Regions from separate parts of the Homo sapiens genome. Here region 1 is linked to region 2. The links are contacts of gene promoters, found by promoter capture Hi-C in human tissues and cell types (Jung and others, 2019). All regions are on one chromosome and are shown on one strand. Each heading gives the region's core, a stretch centred on a gene start or on the middle of the fragment in contact. The rest is flanking DNA. Distances are from core to core; before and after follow the strand shown.

What was found. Contacts are between HindIII fragments. The study calls those that stand out against the background at their distance.
Region 1: a contact is called between a fragment that was not itself captured here and the fragment with the promoter of TMEM132C in region 2, in 2 of the 25 tissues and cell types used here (H1 embryonic stem cells and stomach).

What each region holds. Positions count from the first base shown.
Region 1 is chr12:128,207,484-128,214,591 of GRCh38, reverse strand. No RefSeq gene overlaps it. Among named protein-coding and RNA genes, the nearest start is that of TMEM132C, 56 kb to the left of the region's middle. The HindIII fragment of the contact is 4,855 bases long and covers 2,234-7,088 here.
Region 2 is chr12:128,261,778-128,268,435 of GRCh38, reverse strand. TMEM132C (transmembrane protein 132C) reads right to left here and starts at 1,266. Exons shown (of 9, transcript NM_001136103.3): 1 at 949-1,266. The coding sequence starts at 1,033. LOC107987176 (a long non-coding RNA gene) reads left to right here and starts at 1,404. Exons shown (of 2, transcript XR_001749176.1): 1 at 1,404-1,865; 2 at 4,663-5,489. RefSeq lists enhancers at 225-1,063, 1,599-2,120. The HindIII fragment of the contact is 10,344 bases long and covers 1-3,137 here.

The DNA.
Region 1 (7,108 bases), core at 3,412-5,911, 57 kb after region 2:
AGTTTCAACAGGAGTATTTGAATGTATCTTTTGATAGATGTGCAGAAACAGGGGTAATTGCTTCTGAAATGGAAAGTTTTGCAAACAACTATATCACTATTAACAGTGAAGAGCATTACCATTTTTTTATTTCGACTTTTTGATAGGGTGAAATGTCCTTTGGAATGTACAGTGGAAGATCAGCAGCAGCATCTCTGCTGCTTGAACAATATGTTGCATATTGCTTCATATTTTTGCATGTTACATTGTTGCATGTTGTTTCATAGTGTTGCACGTTGTTTCATAGTGCTGCATATTGTTTTCATATTGCTGCATGTTGTTTCATATCGTTGCATGCTATATTGTTTTGTTTCATATTGTTGCATGTTATACTGTTGCATACTGTTTTATATTGTTGCATGTTATTTCATATTGTCACATGTTATATTGTTGCACATTGTTTCATATTGTTTCATATTGTTGCATGTTGTTTCATATTGTTGCATATTGTGTCATATTGTTGCATGTTCTATTGTTTTGTTTCATATTGTTGCATGTTGTTTCATAGTGTTACATGTTGTTTCGTATTATTGCATATTGTTTTCATATTGTCTTATATTGTTGCATGTTGTTTTATATTGTTTCATACTGTTGCATGTTATACTGTTGCATACTGTTTTATATTGTTGCATGTTATTTCATATTGTCACATGTTATATTGTTGCACATTGTTTTATACTGTTGCATGTTGTTTCATATTGTTGCATATTGTTTCTTCAGCAGAACAGCTTGAGGTTTTGAGAAAACAGACTTTTAACTCAAGATACTTTGACAAACAAATGCCTGACCAGAAAGTTGTTTAATTTTTTTCTATCCAAATCTCTTAAAAGGGGAAGGATTTATAACAGAATCACTACAAAATTGGCTGTGTGTGTCCCTAGGACATTGCGGTCCTTTGGCTAAGATCAATGAGAAGAGACACTTCTCACGATGAAATAGGCAGGAGAGGTGGTGGGGAGTCTAGTTTAAAATCTTAAAATATTTCTCACGAGTGTGAGGTTCAGAGTCTATGTGACTCTCACCCTCCTCAATTTTATTTTGTTTTCAGGAAACTTCTATCAACTCAGAAACCCTTCTAGGCACTGGATATGCCTTCCCCATATTCCATTTGGTCCCTCCTACCAAAACAATCAACACCCAGTAATGATGCAGCTGTGCTGATCCTTAGGTCTTGGGTATCCTAACAGCCTGGTGTGAGCTGATCTGCAATATGATTAAGCACTTTTCAACTGGCCCCAAGTTTTAGAAGATCCTCAGCCTTGTACTTGGAGGATTAATACATTCAGTGCTGGCTAGTCACATTTTGAATAAGATTTTTCTCTCTCTTTAAATGTCACCTCTTCTAATGCATAACCTTATAGTTGTTTATAGGTCATGAGCTATGAAAGTCTAGCCCAAAGCTTACTCATTACACTTGAGTTGAGTGGAATTAAAAGGCTGGACTAGATAAGCATGAGACATTTAATTTAAAAGTTAGATTTTCTTAAAAACTTAGAAGAAATATCTTTTTTCTTTGACAAATTAATGTATGTTAATGGAAAAAGAGGGGAGTATGCTTCATCCATTTAGTCTAAAGGATTTATCAGCAACATAAACAGTCTTCTTTTTTGGAAGGAGGTCAGGTATAAATGCAAGCCTGTCCCAAGGGACCTTCTCTCTTTTGGCTTCAGGGAAAGCCTCCAATAGCTCCTGGACAAGACTTGACGTTCACCCTCCCCTCCTCTTCTTCTCTCAGCCCTTACGCATCTGTTGGTGTGGGCTTGCCCTGTGTGACTTCCTCCTCCATCAATATTTCATCAACAGCTTTTACTGACCGTGCTTTAAAATCCACCATGCTGGTGGAAATAGTTCCAAGTTGAGAGAACCGAGAGGCCTCAGAAGTGTCTTGTTTCTGTGATTGCCTGAATCTCAGGCCAGGCATTTGCCATCTGGGCCTCAGTGTCCCATCTTTATAATAAATTAATTACACAAGATGAGCACCAAGGCTGCTTCCAGTGCTGCCATGCCTTGATTCCAATTTATAAATAATTTCAGCACCTCATAAAGTGAATCTAAATTCTCAGCCTGTAATTCTCAGGCATGGTCAGACAGACTCATGACGGCCTCATCTTAAAAGTTTTAAAAATGTTAAAAGAAGACTAATTTAAAGTTGAGCCCTGAAATTTCTATTTTGGAATTTCAACCTCCTCCTTCACATTCTGTAAGACCATTTTTTTTCTTAATCATTGGGATTAAGGGCAATAAAGTGGGACTGAAGGAAATGAGTGTCCATTTGGGGACAACCAAGTGCTGCAAGGGTTGCTGGAATGGCTGTGGCTCTGAACAATCAGGTTTATCAAGTATACAGACATCTTGGAGTCAAGAGTGCCTGTCAAATCTCAGACCCAACACTTACAGTGTCAGGGTACTAATACATGGCAGTGACTTGTTTAGACCTGGGTTGTCTGCCCCACATTAGGGCTCACAGGGAGGAAATTCCATTTTGAATATATTGAATGACAAAGGAAAGATTTGGAACTTTAAATGCAAATTCATGCGCACTGACAAGAAAATTCGGATAGCAGCAACAGTCAAGCATTGGCCATTGCCCCCATCTTGTGTTCCCTCCATTCTGCAATGTCCAAGGAGACGATGAATCCATACACTTGTGCACCCAGAAGCTCAGTAAGTTGATCTTGAGAAAAGGAATCAGATCTGTCAGTTTCTGGCCCTCGGTCCTAGTTGAGTGAATGGTGTTCTCCAAAATTTATGTCCACCTAGAAACTCAGAATGAGACTTTATTTGGAAACAGGGCTGTTGCACCTGTAACTAAGGTAAGAGTAGGTGATACTGGATTGGGACAGGCCCTAAACTCAATCATCACTGTCAAGATAAGAAGAGGAGAAGACATGAAGAAGTGGAAGAAGGTCATGGGAAGATGGAGACAGAGATTGGAGTGAGGCAGCCACAAATCAAGCGTTGCTGAGGATTGCCAGGAGTCCAAGAAGCTTGGAAGAAACAAGGGAGGGGTCTTTCCTTGAGCCTTTGGAGGTGGAATGGCCGTTGCACCATCTTGATTTTAGACTTCTAGCCTTCCAAATTGTGAGGAAACATTAAACCCATTAACATGGAATATGGTAAGCCTATGACCCAGTTTCTGGCAATTGACTATAGTTGCCCTGGGAAATTAACACACTTTTCCCAGCCCAGAAACCCAAACCTGGCTCAAGGTTTGTGTGTGGTGCAGACATCATAGCACCTCCTTCTACACTTTCAGATCCTCTTTTTCCTCACTCCCTCACTAACACTCCTTCCTTCTTGTGTTTTAAGCAGATTCACCTGAAACATGCCTTTGACGTTTATCCTGAGTCACTTTTCTATTAGAGGTTACCATTTCAGAAAAAAAAGGCAACAACAGAAAGATATGAATGGCTTGAATCTTAGCAGATTTATAAAATTTAAATTCAGAAAAATATATCAGAGATATAGAAACATTCTGCCTTCTGTGATAGATAGTCTTCAAATACAGTCATCAATAATCCCATCTAAGAAGTCTGAGTTTGCAGAGACCTCCATACTGAAAGGAACCTTAAGCTGCTTTCCTGGAGAAGCACTGGTGCTTCAGATATGCAGTCCCACCATGTGAATGACCCTGACCAATGCCATGGGAGCAGAAGAACCGCCCAGGAGAGCCCTGTCCAAATTCCAGTGAAATAATACACTGAGAAATGATAAATCATAAATCATCAGAAATAATAAGTTACTTTATGCCTCTAAGTATTCAAGTGACATGGCAATCAATATGCAAAGCAACACCTGTTCAAATTCTACAAAATTGGGAGAATGATAAGTTTTTCATGAGTACAATTCTCTCTGCCTTAGGATGGTCATTCTGGGGCTAAGAATATCCTTGATCAGTTAACATTGACTTTAGACAGTTGAATGAGAAATCACTTTGGATCAGTGGTTTTTGGCTAGGAGTGGCTTTGTCCCCTCAGGTCATATTTGACAATGTCTGAAGACATTTTTCTTTTTTTTTGGTCTCATCTGGGAGAGTTGGTGCTGGTGGGTAGAGGCCAAGGATCCTGCTAAACATTCTGCAATACACAGGATCGTTCTCCCCAGCAGAGAATCATCTGTCCTCAAATGTCAACAGCACATCATAAATATAAATTCCAGTAGAATATGATAATAAATATAAACAGGGCTGAGGTTAAGGATCCCAGTTTTGGATCATATGGTCCTGTATATATAGTTTTTGCATTTAATTCTATATATTTGACAATTACCACACTTATATAATTTGTAAAATTCCCCTTCTAGCCTTCTAAAAATATAATCTTGTTGATCAACACCTGGTAGAGATTGTAAAATAAAAATAAATAAATAAGGAAAGACATACACTTAAGAACTGAAGTGGTTTGTGTGTGTGTGTGTGTGTGTGTGTGTGTGTTAGCATTGGCTGGGAAAACTGTGTAGAAGTTTTAAACACAAAGTGATATTTTGTAACTGTACTTGTAGTTAATTATGAGAAACTTTTTTTTCCAATTGAGTAATTAAAATTAAACATAAGCCAGGTGGTTTGTAGATATGTTAAGGTTGTTGTATTTGCTACAGATGTGAAGGAATATGGAGCTAAAAAGGCTGATGTCGTTGAAAGCTGGGGTACCAAAACACCTTGATAATGAAGTGCTTTGTCCCACCACTAGGCACCAAGCGCCTGTGATAATGAGAACTTCTGATGTTGAGGGCTAGCAGTGCTGGTCAGGGATTCCCTTTGAAGCCATGTGGTTCCTTCCTATGCAGCCATCTGCAGGTGGGGCCAGAGAGCTCAGTGGCAGGACTTGGGGGCCAGGTCAGAGAGCAGAGCTGCCATGTCTCAGACACCAAATATGACACCAACTCCTGCAAGATGGGAATGGTGGATGAATCTCAGGCTTCCCCTGTCTGACTTTGGGGACCAGTTCTAGCCCAGATGAGAGAAATCGATGAGGCATGAAATGAAATACTTGTGTCAATGACAAAAAAAGTCAGTGTTGCATTGTGTTGGATTCAACATGAAGAAAAATAAATAGAAGCATCAATATATCAAAGTAAAAAATGTGTGTTCAATCTTTATTTGTTCTGCTGAGAGAATACTAAACATGCAAATTACCTTTAAAAATTGTAAAGTGGTTAAATTGTATATAAATATTGAAAGGGAAAATACTGTTGTTGGCTTTAATTATGGACATTAATTGCATGCACATAGGAGGTGAGTCCTTTTTATGTTTGCCTGAATTCTGGCATCACCACTAGCTCATATGGTACTTATGAAAAATTTTTAAAATTCTGGTTCTTCCTGATGACACTTTTCCTACTATCTGTGAGAAAATTGTTTTAGTACACTGAGTCTAAACCTCACAGCCATTGGGGGGTAAACTTTTCATAACAAATGCTATATTTTATCAAATTGAAGTTTCTTTTGATTGTCAGAATTATCAGTATTTTACAAACCACCAGTGAAAAAATGCTGCCAGTTACAAGTGCCAGATGCCATTGCTTTAAAATGTTTCCAAATTATAGGACTGTTAAAGTATGGGGAAAAAATGTATCTTGGAACTGGTGACTCAGGTATTGCAAATCTATAATATTGATTGATTGTGAATATTGGCCCTTTATATAGGGTGGTGCTGTGCAGTGCACAACATGGACAGCCATTAGTGGTGGCCCTGTTGAGTATTAGAATTTAGAATCAATATTCCTCTGCCTTTCCAGATTCTGGTATTTGTTGATTTCATGAATCCTTCCCAAGACAGGCTACAAGCATTAGACCAGCAGGAACAATGAAAGTCATGAGTGAGACAGAACACAGCTTCCAGGGTTCTGAGTGTGGGTTCTGCAGTACACACATCCTCAGTTTGAGGAATGAGGGAGTCTCTTTAGACTTTGAAGGAGGCCACACCTGCTGTGCCACTTCCCAGCTGTGTGGCCTCAGGAAACTCCCGGAGCCTCAGCTTCCTCAGTTATGTAAATGTCCATGATAACAATACACACCTGTGCCAGGGGTCTCTGAGCCCACCCATAGACTAGGTAATTCTCTAGGAAGACTCCTAGGACTCATCATATAGTCATACTTAGAGCTATGACTTATTACAGTGAAAGGATACAGAGTAAAATCAGCAAAGGGAAAAAGTGCATGGGGTAAAGTCCAGGGGAGACCAGGCACAAACTCCCAAGACTCTTCTCCCCCTGTGAAGTCGCACAGGATGCACTTGTTTCCTCCAGCAAATGAGTTGTCACAACATGTGCAAAATGTTACCTATCAGGGAAACTCTTTAGAAACTCAGTGTCCAGGGTTTTTATTGGGGATGAGTCAAGTAGACATCTTCTCTCTGCTATGCACCAAAAATTCAGACTCCAAGAAAGAAAGCAGGTGTTGAGTAAGACTGGACAAACTGTAGACACAATTCAATGGCAGTGAGCCACCTTATCATTTAGGATAAGTTTTATGTCAGTGTAGGGAGATGATGACCAGTCAATTTGCCAGATGCCAGCCTAGGTCCAGCCTTGCAAGCAGATCTTTTCCAAGGATAGCAGGCACAGCTCTTCTGTGCCAACTCCTTTCTTCCCAACCTCCCTCAGGGTTATTTGCAGATTTAATAAAATATTCCATGCAAAGGCCGGGCACGGTGGCTCATGCCTGTAATTCCAGCACTTTGGGAGGCTGAGGCAGGCAGATCACGAGGTCAGAAGATCGAGATCATCCTGGCTAACATGGTGAAATCTTGTCTTTACTAAAAATACCAAAAATTAGCTGGGCATGGTGGTGGGCACCTCCTGCTGAGGCAGGAGAATGGCGTGAAACCCGGAGGCAGAGCTTGCAGTGAGCCGAGATTGTGCCACTGCACTCCAGCCTGGGTGACAGAGCAAGACTCTGTCTCAAACAAAAACAAACAAACAAGCAAACAAACAAAAATTCATGCAAAATGCTGTGCTCATTCAATGCCACTGAGATTTCTTCCTTTCAGAGTTCCCTGAAGATCAAGCCTGAAGTACATGTTTGCTAACTGGTAAGCTATGCTAGAGTATGCAACACATTCTATTTCAC
Region 2 (6,658 bases), core at 17-2,516:
AGCCTAGGCCTTGCTCCCCGCCTGCCCCGCGGCTCCTGGGGCTGGAGACCGCCTCTCCCCGCCCTTCCCGCCGCCGCATCCGCGCGGCCACTCGGCCGCACACGCACATAATAAAAAAGGTCGGAAAAACCACACGGCTACCTTTCGTGAGCCCTGCGGGCGCCATACGTTAACTCCTTTAAATTCCTCCAACCCAAAGCAGGGCCGTCACTCCCATTGTAGAGAAGAGGACACTGAGGTGAAGGAGCCCCGGACAGGACCGCTGGTGAGGTAGTTCCCGTCGCGAGGGACGCACCCACCTCCCCATCCGCGCTCCCCCACCGCAAAGGACTCATTTGAGAGAACCCGCAGAGAGCCCCTGGTTTCTGCCAAGCTGGGGTCCCTGGTGAGCTGCGCGATGAGTGAGCGTTCCTCTAGGGCCCGCACAGAGACCCTAGCGGTTGCGGAAAGGGGATGCAAAGAACCGGGCCTTCCCTCCTGGAGCACCAGCCCCACAGTGCCGAAGCTGTGGATGGGGAGCTGTGGACAGGGAGCACACAGCCGGGAGGAAGGAGCGCACAGAGCGGAGCACCTCTCCTGGATGCCAGTTCCACAGGGTGACTGTGCTGGGGCTGGGGCAGGTCCGCACGGAACTCAGGGATGGGGAACAAACACCGTGTCCCTCAGCCACGCCCCCTCCTCATCCGCGGGGCAGCTCTGGGTCTGGGGGGTCCGGGGTGGGAGATTCGGGACTCGGGACCAGCCTAACTTGCCCGGATCCCGGCGCCCAGCTGGGAGCGCCCTTCTGGATTAGGGGCGGCTCGGCACCCGCAGAGGCGCTGTTGATGGGATCCGAGCCCCCGCCGAGGCCCCCGCCGCACCCCTCGCTTCGGCTGCCCTCACCCCGAGCTCCCCCGGAACCGGGAAGTTCGCATGCGTCGGCGCGCCAGGCACCCGCCCCGGCCTTACCTTTGCCCAGCAGCGCGCCCAGCAGCAGGCTCAGCGCCCCGCACAGCGGCGCCGCCGGCCCGGGGGCCGCACCCTCGGAGCGCATCCTGCGTCCCGGCCGCTCACGCAGCCCGCCGCCAGCCCGAAGCGCAGCGCCCGCCCGCGGCCCCCGCCGGCCGCCCCATGCCCGGGGCCACTCCCGCAGCCCGGTCGGCCGGGCCCGCTGCGTCTCTGCTGTCCGAGGCCCGCCCCTGCCGGGTCCACGCCGCCGCAGCTCCGGCTCTGGCTCTGGCGGCTCCGGCTCCGCCGCTGCTCGCGCTCCGGCCGGGACAACTTTTCTCCCGCAGCCTCCGCAGCCTCCGCAGCCGCCGGCCCGCCCCGCCCCCGGCCCCGCCCCCGCCCCCGCCCGGGCCCCGCCCCCGCCGAGCCCCGCGACCGCGGACAGATTGAGGGTGCGGTAGGAGAGAGTTCGCCTGCCCGCCGGGAGGGGCGGCAGATGGAGAACCCCCCCGCCCGGGCTAGGGAGGGTGTGCCCGGGAAAGAAGACCGGGAGAGGAGGGGGCGTCTCCCCAGGCGGCTGGGACGGCTCCTCCGGGGGTCCGCGCCTTTCCAGAGAAACTCAGCGTTCGCAGACTCCTGCCCGGGTGCCCAACGGACAGCGGCCCGTGGCCCGGAGGGTCCTGCCCAGGGACCCGACGCTCAAGGCGGAGCTGGACTCCTTCTCCCCACCCTCCCGTGGTCACTGCGGGACCTGGTGGTCGTCACGCCCCATTCCTCAACTTCAGGTGGCCGCTGCTTTAGCCTGGAGGGCTGGGGACATCTGGAATGCAAAGTCCCGCGCAGCTGCTGCGGGGAGAGCTCCTAACTGGATCACTGAGCGCGGAAAAGCAGCGCGCAGCGGAGCGTGAAGGCGGGGTGCGGGCTCAAGACAGATGCGGGTGTGCACCTGTGCGTGTGCGGAGGGGGCGAGGCACGAGATCACAGCGGTGTCTCTGGGAAGGGGACGAGAACGCAGAGGGGAAGAAAGGATCATTTTTCACTGCATGTCTGTGGGGCTTCCACTCCCCAATCATCTCCCCGCCGCCCATAGCATGTGTTTTATTATCTTTTCAGTGGGTGGAGAATAGCCCCTCTCTAGACTTGCTCCTGCAATAGGCAATTTCTCTGCAGACTCAGACAAGGAAGATCCGCCCTCCCCCCCCCCCCCCCGACTTCGTTCTCTCTATCTTTTCCCTCTGATTTCTCCAGGGCTGGCCTCCCTCATGGTGGTGATCCCAGGTGATCTCAGCGGCTTCCCTGTGCGGTTCCTGATGCTCATGCTCTGCTCTTTCTGCCACGCGTGGTCTGAGCAGTTTGAGGGCGGGACCCCGACTCCCCCCTTGTGACTGGGAATGAAGGGCCATGGGTTCGGAGGTCTCTGGACGTCCCCTCCTGTCCTGAGCTCCTCACCACGGGCTCAGCATCCCCTCTCACCGTGGGCTGGCTCGGTCCAACATCAAAAGGAAGCCTGAGGGGTCTTTTCTCACCATCAGTGCAGGAAAGAATTTCAAAAGAAAAAAAGAAGTCCTTGATTGAAAGAAAAGAAATGTAAACGAATGATCCCCAGCAACTGCAACCCCAAGTCTTATCTCCCAACTCAGCCCCTAAGGAATGAGCCAGGCATAAGGAGAAATTGGGGCGGGGTGGGGCGAAGGCTTTGCAGGGCACTGGCCAGAGTGGGAGGCTCTCTCCTGGGGTGGGGCCCGGAAGTCTGGGCCAGGCTGGGGGGAGATGTCTCCCTGGTTTTCTTGGCCGGCTCTACTCACATGATGTGAGGAGAAGGCAGCTTGAAAACTATCCAGGCCCCAAAGGGAACGGTAAAAGCTTGATTCTCATAGGCCTGGATAGCAGAGACTTGATTTTTAAAGTGGATTATGCTGATAATCGCCCAATTCTTCAGTACATTCAGCTAGTGTAGACCTGACCTTGGGGGCAGGGGGCAGTTGTAAAGTAGATTTGGGCTCCTAAAACGGAAGGTACGTTTTATTCTCAGTGCTTTGAGCCTGAACATCACCGGGGAATAATTTTTTTTTCATTTAAATGTTCCCAGCATGAGGGAGAAATACACATGTCCCATTGTTTGTAACTGAGGATGGGAATCTGCCTTATCCTCTCTCCTCCCTATTGGATAACAGGGACAAAAAATAAAAACCCAAAGAAGTGCCCTCCACTCCCCTGTTCTATGCAGCCTCATAATGTACCTTCTTTCCACATCATTTCTTTCCTTTTGGCACAGAACATTGCTGTCCCTACTGCAAAGACAAGTCAGGTCCTGGACTACATCTCTGTGATGCAAATAATCAAAACCAGGGGCTACCAAACAAGCCACAGCAAAATAAATACTAATTCAACATGGGGTTGGAGTGGGGAAAGGATTCTCAATCAGATAAGCTCACTGCACAGCACCCCAAAGGCAGCCACTGTCTTCAGGTGATCCTGAATCACAGATGCCCCTTGAGACTATGATGCCTCCGGGCATCCCCTGTGAGAGCCTTCAGGAGACCCAGCAAATGAAAGCTTCTCTGCAAACCTTCCTTTAGGACTCCATTTAATCTATTGCGTGTCCCTCTCAAGAGCAGTCAAACAAACATGCACACAAAACTGAACAAACAAATAAAACAGATGATATAGTCAATTTCTCTTTCATAGGTAAATCCACAAAAATTGAGGTTCATGGGCTAATAAAGTTTTCTGTATTTATTTTTTTTAAGTCATGTATCATTTAACCCCCAAATCATTAATTCCTTAACTTAGATTACTTCCAGATGGTTTTCTGAATTTCATAAGGAACATCAGAGGCTTCTAATCTCCTCAAAGGCTGTTGCAGAATTCCTTAAGGACTGTGGGCACATGGAAGCACTTAACATAATTTATGGGAGAGGAGAATGATTGGAAAGAGGAAACCTGCTGCTTCCACAGGGTTTCAGGGTTCCTAAGTCAATGAGGCAACTTCAGATTGTTTTGTTCATGCTTAAATGTTAAATTGTGAATATCGCATAAAATGAGGGGTGGAACTTGTGATTTTAGTTCAAAGGCTTCTTGCATTGTCTACCTGTAGACGGGACATATGGGTATATATTGCCGAGGACATGGAAAAGAAAGGCTATATGTTGGCCTCATGAAACAGCTATGGTCATCCCGCAAACTGAGTATCAAGTCCTGACTATGGTGCTTACTATTAGCGATTAAAAAATGAGGAAGAAGGAAAAAAGGGAGAAAAATGATAGAAAGGTCTATGCTTAGTTCTGTGTCCTGTCATTGTTCTTAAAACATATAGGCACTATCTGATTTAATCCTCTTCACACTCGTGGGGTGTATTATTATTATCCTTGGACATTTTATTCATTCATTCATTCATTTAACAAATAGGTGTCACTTGCTTACTATTTGTCAGGCCCAAATTTTGGGGTTTTGCCAGTGAACAAAATAGACGAGAGTCCTAAATTCATGGACCTTACATTCTAGTGGAGGATGCAGACTCTAAAGTAATATACAAGTAATTGTATCTGTTAATGCAGTGATATGTGTTGTGAACAAAAATAAAGCAAAATAAGGGAAAAGTCTGATTTGGGGGTGCAACTTTAGGAAGGTGGGTGAAGTGAGAGCAATTTTTGGGAAAAGAGCTTCTCAGGCTGATAAAAATGAAAGTGCAAAGACACTAAGCTGGAGTCCTGAAAGGTCTTATTTTTCTTTCAGAAGGATCACTCTGGCCAATTGTAGACCACAGCCTATAGGAGTAGCCAAGGAAGCCTGAAGTCTAATTAAGAGCTGGTTCAAGGCACCCAGGAGTCTTGGATGCTTGCACTGGAGTAAGAGGAGCAAAGCTGTGAAGTCGAGACAAGGACCAGTTAATGATGCCTAGTGGAAGTGAAGCCAGCAGGATGTGCTGATGGATGGGTGTGGACTGTGGGAGGGAAAGAAGAGGCCACTGTTTTGGCCCAAACAACTGGGTACCTGAGGGTTCTCTTTATGGAGGTGAGGAAGAGAGGGGGTGAGTGACCTTGGTTGGTACATTGGTACAGATGAGGAAACTGAGGCTCATAGAGGAGATTAAGCCACTTGCTGGTATGTGACAGCCCATACATTGAAAATCAGCTCTCTGCACCCCCTGGAAGGAGCCGGGCCAGTTTATGACCACCAACCCTAAGGCAAATTGAGTATTGCATTGGTACGAACCGTAAGCCATATGTCATCCCCTCTTTCATTAACTCCAGGTCTAAGTCTGGCTAAGGTAGAGAGGAGTCAGAGGTGTGGAATGTAGAAATAATACATTCTTCCTCTCTCCGTGTGGATAAAGATTCCAGCCTTTATTCCATCTAATGAAAATATATTTAGGGAACATTTATTGGGGGCCATTCGCTGTCTGCCCTTGTTCCTTTATTTGTTTGCTTGCTCATTCCTCGTTCCATGTCAACTCCATGAGGGGACAATGTCTGACGTGCTCACCCCTGTATTCCTATCCCCTAAAACAAGTGTGTATGTGAAGATAAGTCCTTGTCCAATGAATGAATACTGTAAATCCATAGACTATTAGCCCTACTTTACTAATGAGGAATCTCAGAATCACTCATTTTACCTTTAGTTCATTTAGCTGTTAATAGTGATGATGATGATAATAACAATTAACATTTATTAGGTACTTCCTAATTGCCAAATATCTCATTAACAACCCTATGAACATGTACTCTTGTTATCTCCAGTTCACACATAAGAAAACTGATGTCAAAGAAGTGAAGTGGCTAGTTCAATGCCACTCATCTAGGAAGTGGTTGAGCTGGGATTCAATCTAGACCATCTGACTTCAAAGTCCACATTCGCAACCATTCACTAGACTGATAGGTGTGTGCTCAGGTGTGCCTGTTTCCTACACCAGATGTCTAGGAAACTTGTGTTAGGTCTCACTTGCTAGGTCTCTCTTTGTGTCAGGTTTCACTTGTTGGGCCCTTTTATTTTAAACAAGCACTGAAGAATTGTCCCTTTGTAACTTCCACTTACCATCCCAGACAACCTCTTGAGACCCTTGTGCTTCTCTGGCACTGCTACTTGAACTCAGCCTGTATGGAGCTTAATCGACCCTGAAGAGGACATGGGCCCAGCATCCCTAGATAAGATGCAAGATGCAGGTGACTTTTGGCCTGTGAAAACAACTTTTAAGAGTGATGCTCAAATGCCCATACCTGCTTATCATCCCATTCTCCACGTGGTACCTGTTGGATGCCCAGACTCCTCTCACATTTGTGGTTAAGACCCACAGAGTAGAATCTCTACCCTTCACCCTTCCGCTAGGGTTCAAGGCCAGCAAATGATCAATTTACTATAGGAATTAGGTTAACGAAGCTTCGGATTAGGTTACAAATGGAAGTAATCACACTGGTATTTCCTTAACTGTATTTGCATCATCATCATCATCACCATTATCACCATCATCATCATCACCATCATCATCACCATCACTATCATCATCACTATCACCATTATCACCATCATCATCACCATTATCATCATGATCATCATCATCATTATCACCATCATCATCACCACCACCACCACCATCATCATATCATCATCACCATCACCATCATAATTACCATCACCATCACCATCATCACCATTACTATTATCATCACCATCACCATCACGATCACCATCATCATCATCTCTAACACTTGCAGATTCCTTACTCTGTCCCAGG